2 separate regions of the Homo sapiens genome follow, and region 2 is linked to region 1. The links are contacts of gene promoters, found by promoter capture Hi-C in blood cells and fetal thymus (Javierre and others, 2016). All regions are on one chromosome and are shown on one strand. The core of a region is centred on a gene start or on the middle of the fragment in contact, and the rest is flanking DNA. Distances in the headings are between cores, read along the strand shown.

Evidence for each region. Contacts are between HindIII fragments. The CHiCAGO score rates a contact against its expected background, and 5 or more counts as called.
Region 2: a contact is called between a fragment that was not itself captured here and the fragment with the promoter of ITIH4-AS1 in region 1, in 1 of 17 cell types (naive CD4 T cells). The highest score is 5.5, in naive CD4 T cells.

What each region holds. Positions count from the first base shown.
Region 1 is chr3:52,822,095-52,825,570 of GRCh38, forward strand. It overlaps ITIH4-AS1 (ITIH4 antisense RNA 1), which reads left to right and starts at 1,841. Exons shown (of 3, transcript NR_046615.1): 1 at 1,841-1,899; 2 at 2,018-2,243; 3 at 3,111-3,220. It overlaps ITIH4 (inter-alpha-trypsin inhibitor heavy chain 4), which reads right to left. Exons shown (of 24, transcript NM_002218.5): 7 at 2,748-2,864; 8 at 2,303-2,471; 9 at 2,096-2,221; 10 at 1,729-1,910; 11 at 1,462-1,647. RefSeq lists a silencer at 2,165-2,322. The HindIII fragment of the contact is 13,495 bases long and covers 1-3,476 here.
Region 2 is chr3:53,113,673-53,117,148 of GRCh38, forward strand. The region is part of intron 6 of RFT1 (RFT1 glycolipid translocator homolog); the gene reads right to left. Among named protein-coding and RNA genes, the nearest start is that of RFT1, 15 kb to the right of the region's middle. RefSeq lists an enhancer at 662-1,861. The HindIII fragment of the contact is 552 bases long and covers 1,523-2,074 here.

The sequences.
Region 1 (3,476 bases), core at 591-3,090:
GCACTTTGGGAGGCCAAGGTGGGCAGATCACGAGGTCAGGAGACCGAGACCATCCTGGCTAACAAGGTGAAACTCCCTTTCTACTAAAAATACAAAAAATTAGCCGGGTGTGGTGGTGGATGCTGGTAGTCCCAGCTACTTGGGAGGCTGAGGCAGGAGAATGGTGTGAACCTGGGAGGTGGAGCTTGCAATGAGCCGAGATCCAACCACTGCACTCCAGCCTGGGAGACAGAGCGAGACTCCATCTCAAAAAATAAAAAAAAAAATCTTAGGTCTGAAGTTCAGGTCATATTTTTCAGAATACACATTAAAATAAGTAAATAACCACTAAAACAAGCCATGTCTGTCTGTGAACTCCCCTGAGTCACCTTGGGTTCTGTACTTTGGGAACCCACGGCCTCCAAGCTAAATCACCTGCTGACATGTATGGAGTGCTTATCACTGGACATCAATCACAGTGACTTTATGAGGGGGGCATGCGACTTATTCCCATGTTTACATAGGAGGAAACTGCAGTAGATGGAGGTTAAGTGACTTCTCCATGTCTCCTATCTGGGAGGTGGCAGAGCTGGGTTTGAAGCCAGGCAGGGTGGCCACGCAGACCGTACCAACAGTCATGACACTTGGGGACTTGTCCTGAAACAAGGCCATGGGCCCCCAACGCCCACTCCTATTCTCTTCACACACGCTGCCCTCATGCCACAGGGGCCTAACATATTCCTCCATTGCCCCATCTGGACTCTTCCCACCTCCTACTTATCCTTTTGTCTCTGCTGGGCCTCCTCCAGGAAGCCCTCCCTGATCCCCAGGCCAGGCTGGGGCTCCTGGTGCTGCTCTCCTGAGTCCAGGGTTAGATCCCAGCCTGTAGCTGGTTTGTGTGGTGATATGTCCTTGGGTTGTCTCTCCCATGAGGGCACGGAGGGGTCAGCCTCATTCACTGCTGCATCCCAGGGCCTGAAGAAGGCCCTGCCGCAGAGCTTGTGCTCAGTTTCTCTTTGTGGAAATGACAGGGGGTCCCTGGAAGGAGGCAGGGAAGGCTGGGCAAGGACAGGGTGCCACGTGGCAAGCTGGGCTCTTGGCCTGGTTGCAGTGGGGCCCGGGGAAAGCTGCCTGCCCTGCCTGGAGCTCAGTCTGCTCATTTGTGAAATAGGAGCAGCCCTCCCTGTCTGACTGCAACCTGAGAGGGTTGTGGTACCAGGACAGGAAGGGATGACAACTAGGGAGGAATCCCTGCCCTCACCTGTGCTTGCAGGTGCACAGACCGGCTGCCGAGAGCCTGTATGTGCTGGTCTCATGAGAATCACTCCATTGTCTCATTGAATCCCTGCCATGCCCCTGTGTCATCCACAGGCAGCAGAGGGGAAAGCTGGAGCTGGGCAGGTCTGGGATTTGAGTCCAGCCCCTCTGGCTGCAGAGGTGGAGGCTGCCATTCCCCTCCAGGGTGGCTTTGGCCACACTCACCAGCTTCCCACTGACTGTGGCTGTGAGCACATCAGGCCCCCGGTCCTGGAGCTTCCCAGCCACCACCATCTCTGAGCCCTTGAAGAGGAGCCGGAAGTTGTTCTGAGTGACCTCCTCCACGGCATTGCTTGGGTACTCGAAGGTCACTGCTGTCAGCAGTGGGTTGGCCACTTCCTGGTAGAAGTCCTGCAGGGTTGGGGGTGTCATAAAGGCTGGGCTTTATGACTGCCCACTTCTCTGTGCAGCCCACCTGGGGCACACTGGCACCTGGAGCTGCAGGGCAGAGTCTGAGTCCTCATGGATGCGCCGGGCCAGGCCGCCATTGTCCAGTGCCAGCTTCTCCAGGAAGGCATAGCTGACGTCGAAACCGAAGCCCAGGCAGAAGAGGCTGTACCGGCCACTTACAGCTTCCCGCACGTTATTCTGGATGCTCCTGGGGTTAGTCTCCCCTGGACCCAGGGGTTTGGGATGAGGGTGAGAAAATAGTGATTTGCTTGAAGAATATTTCTGGAACCTCAGAGCCGAGGGGCCTCAGTGACCCCCTCTCCCTGCCCAGATCCCACAGCAAGCCCAGGTGCAGCCCCAGCCGCCTCCCCTGTGCAGCACGTCCTGGAGTCACGGGCAGGGCCCTCACCCACAGTGGGGTCGCCATCGGTGAGCAGGATGATGAGTGAGACACTCCCTTCGGGCAGCCGCTCCTCCTGGTTGCTGCTGTCCAGCAACTGCACAGCCATCAGCATTGCATCATTGATGTTGGTCCCTGAGGAACACGCACTCTCAAGGTGGTCCCCAGCCAGGAGCCCTGGAAGCCCCCACCCTGCAGGGCCACAGAGACACTTACCTCCCAGGGCCTGGATGCCCGCAGCAAAGCTCCTGGCCTTGTTCACGTTCTCGGCTGAGGCTGGCACCAGTGATGGCCTCCACTGAGTTGCTTCTGTACTGAAGACGATGAGGTTGAACTGGTCTCTGGGGCTGAGGTCATCCAGGATCTTGATTAGGGCTTCCCGGGTCTGGTCAGGGAGAGGAAACATAGGTGCTTCAGAAGGGCTCCCTGAGGGCTCGTGTGCCCTAGGGCTGGCATCCTTGGACTCCTGTCTCAGGGGTGAGGTCATGGTATCTGCTCTAGGAACAGGGGCTGCCCTAGGCTCTGGCCAACCTTGGTTCCTGAGAGCCACCCGCCCCATGGTGCCGAAAGGTGAAGCAAGGGGGTCTGCCTGCCGGACCACAGCTGATAGCGTGAAGGGCCTGGGAGTTTTCAGGGCCCTGCCCTGGGCCACAGGACCTACCTGCTGGATTTTCCTGCCACTCATGGAGCCGCTCTTGTCAATGACAAAGACCACATTCTTGGGCATTGTGGTTAGGCCCTCGGGGGCAAAGTAGTGTACAAAGTAGCCGTTCTCGATCTGTGGCCAGAGTGAGACCCACCCAGGCCATCAGAGCTACAATTGGCCCTATCCCCATTCAGCCCCTTTACCCCAAATTCTGGGTTTCTGTGCTCTGTTCCAATCCCATTTCCATCCCACTGCTAACCTCCCCAAAACCTTGCCCTTTTTCAGGGCTCAGACCAGCCCCTTTCTTGCGGAAGCCTTCCCTGCTCATGCATAGCCCACCAGAACTCTCCCTGCAACTTTTCCTTCTATTTGTTTTAGTATTTCAGATGGTTTATACTAAAAAGTTCAGACATCATAAACCTGACAACCATCAAAAGAGGGAAGACTTCAAAAACATGGAGTAAAAGGGAAGTATAATAACAATGGCAGAAATGGCTGGGTGTGGTGAATCACGCCTGTAATTCCAGCACTTTGGGAGGCTTAGGTGGGAGGATCACTTGAGCCCAGGAATTCAAGACCAGCCTGGGCAACCTTGTCTCTACTGGAAAAAAAAAAAAAAAAATTAGCCAGGTGTGGTGGTGCACGCCTGTAGTCCCAGCTACTAGGGAGGCCGAGGCAGGAGTTTCTTTTGAACCTGGGAGTTTGACGGTGCAGTGAGCCATGATCATACCAAAATATAACAAC
Region 2 (3,476 bases), core at 549-3,048, 290 kb after region 1:
TTCAACAAGTAATCCCTGTAAAAAATATTTTTTTTCATATTAAGACTTTGAAATCCAATATGTATTTTGCATTTATGACTCATCTGAATTCAGACTAGCCATATTCCAGAATGCTCTATAGCCACATGTGGCTGGTGGCTAACATTTGGGACAGGGCAAGCCTAGAGCACCTCTGAAAGCAAGGATCACTTCTAGCCCCCATTCTCTTTACTCCTTGGTTTCTGAGCCTTTTTTCCAGACACAGGGAGTGCAAGTGTGAATCCTCCCAAACAGTGCAGCCCTCAGGGAATCAGAGAACCTAGAGCAGATGCCAGGTTATCTCTTTAGCCCAGGAGTAAATCTTCCCTGATGAGAAGGAAATTGGGCCACAAGATGTTTAAAACAGGCCATCTCCTTTCCCCGGAACAAAGAGCACCAGACAACTTCCTACCACTAGGGGGCACTGGGGACCACGTCATCTTCAGACTTGGATTCTGACCACAGCCGGCTTCAGCACCTTCTCTCTCTCACACTGCTCCTCACCCCTTGCCATGCTGTGGTGGTCCTCCCAGGGGTCAGCAAAGCAGGACCTGTCCCCTTTTAAAAGGAAACGAAGGCTGCTGCTTGTCATGAGGCTCTCGTGATGCCTGTTTGCCTGCAGGTTGTGAATGGATTTGGGAAGATGATTGAGCTCTTTAAAGACAAAGTTCTTTGGGAGAATGAGATCATGATGGTGTACCTAATCTGAGAGCTCATACTTGATTTTCCTAATGCCTTTGGTTTAAATGGGCCTGTGGTTCAGAAGGAATGGTGACACCACTTACTAAAAGTGCTCATTAAGGACACAGAGGCAGGAAATCCAATCTGAGATGCGGCTTCTGCAGGCAGGGGCTGAGTGGTGGGAGAGAGGAAGCATATGGTGGACTGTTACCATTCTATTCAGAATGGAGGTTCAGAATGGAGGTGTCACTTGGGGCGGTCAAAAGAGGCCTATTTCACAATAGCTGGGTTGGTACTGATGAGCTGATCTAAATAGCCAGGAATTTCCCTGGAATACCCTGACCAACAAGCCATTCCACTGCCCTCACTGTACTAACGGAGAAATGGCGGCTAAGGTGGTAAAAGGTGATGGATGGTAACTCCAGGGAAGGTCTGGAATCAGAACTCAGAGGCTCATCACACTTTCACCTGAGTCACTCGTCCACTTCCCAAACTCTTCTGACTCAGGATGATATGATCAGCCACATCCTTACCACAATGACAAGAGTCACTGGTGAGTGTGGGGCTACCATCCTGTCCACTGCCCTCTGTCACCTCCTCCACCCTACAGAGCACTCCTTCCTCTCCCTCTTGCTCCACCTATCCCAGTCACTCTGGGGCTATTGATGCTGCCCCAGCTTTATCCATCCTCCCACTTTCATCCATCCTCCCCCTGTCCTTACTCCTCACCTGGACAATTGCCACAGGCTCCCAATGAGCTTTTTTTGCTTCTTACTCTTTCTCTAGCCTATCCTTCTCATTGCAGGTTCAGGCTTTGGAGTCAAGCTTGGAGATTGGGGCTCGACCTGCAGTTCCTTGAATTATTAGTGTAAATGTCGCCGTGAACAAGATACTTAATTTTGCTAAGCCTTGGCTTTCTCATCTGCAAAATGGGATAAGAAGTCCTGTCTCATGGAGCCAGTATGAGGACTGAATGAAAAAAAATAAGACACTATAACTCTGTAAGAGACGGCAAGCTCCTCAATACAGACAGTTTGATCATGGTGCTGTTCAAAAACCTTTCATTAGGCTCCACTGCCCCTGAATTAAACCCAAGCTCCATAGCACTGAGGCCACTGCCACCTGACCCTAGCCTGGCAGCCAGGTTTACTTCCCTTCATAACTTCCCGCCACCTTTTCCTTTCTCTCCCTTCCCCCATTTTCCAGCCAACCTAAGTACCCCAGTCATCTCTACATTCCCAATTCCAACACAATGATGGGCAGGTAACAAGCACTGAGCAAATTTTCTTTCCTTCTGTGGTCACGAATGCCCATCTCTACCACACATATACATTTAACCTCTGCCCACCCATGTGTCAAAGTCCAGCACAAAAGAAGCTTCCTCCGTGAAGCCTTCCTTGATGTTCCTAGATGGAATTCAGCAGTCCTTCCTCTGTGCTTCTATTTTGATAACGCTAGACACACACTGTCCTATAGCATAGTTGAGTACAGATCCTATCTCTCCATCACCATGCAAGTTCTGAGGGTAGGGGCCTCACTCAGGGCACCTGGTACAGTGCCTAACATATAATAATGTTTAATACATGCTTGCTGAGTCAAATTCCTCAGCTTTACTTAAATATTAGCATATCTCTCATATTAAATCCCTCAGAAATGTCAATGAATATAAACGGAAGCCATTATTTGAAGTATCATTAATTTATTATAAGGTTAAATAAGCATCTTTAAAGAAGATGGAATTCTACAAGAACAGGAAGGGAAATCTTACAATTAAGTCAAATTGATAGTAAATATAATTATTTGACCAGCTTCCATTAAGGAAGTCCCCAGTGCAGAAAGCTGCTCTGGGGAGTCAAGTCAGGCATGCTGCTCATGGTAAAGTCATACACTGCGTTCATGCATTCAGAATCATCTCATTTCTTTTTTTTTTTTTTTTTTTTGAGACAGGGTTTCACTCTGTCGCCCAGGCTAAAGTGCAGTAGCATGAACACAGCTTACTGTAGCCTCAGTCTCCAGGGCTCAAGTGATCCTCCTGCCTCAGCCTCCAGAGTAGCTGGGATCACAGGCATGTGCCACCATGCCCAGCTAAATTTTACATGTTTTGTAAAGACGGGTTCTTACCATGTTTCCCAGGCTGGTCTCAAACTCCTGGGCTCAAGCAATCCTCCCACTTCGGTCTCCCAAAGTGCTGGGATTACAGGCTTGAGCCACCACACCCAGCCTCTTTTTTTCTTTCTCTTTTTTTTTTGAGACAGAGTCTTGCTCTGTTGCCCAGGCTAGAGTGTAGTGGTGCGATCTCAGCTCACTGCAACCTCCACCTCCTGGGTTCAAGCAGTTCTCCTGCCTCAGCCTCCCAAGTAGCTGGGATTACAGGCGCATGCCACCATGCCCAGCTAACTGTTTTGTATTTTTAGTAGAGACGGGGTTTCACCATGTGGGCCAGGCTGGTTTCCAACTCCTGACCTCAAGTGATCTGCCCGCTCAGCCTCCCAAAGTGCTGGGATTACAGGTGTGAGCCACCATGCCCGGGCTTCTTTTTAAAATAATAAACCTGAATTATGAATTGTTCCACCTGGAACTTCCTAATCTTTATGTAAACAATAACTACTATGGGCAATAAGCCAATTTCTTTTGGAAGGCTACATAACATAGGGGTAAGCCACAGTCTAAAGCTAGTCCCCAGCAAAAGGTGGAGAGAAGTGGGTCCAAAACCAGCTATGTGATTTTGGATTAGTCACTTAACTCCTCTGAACCTCAGTTTTCTTGTCTGTAAAATG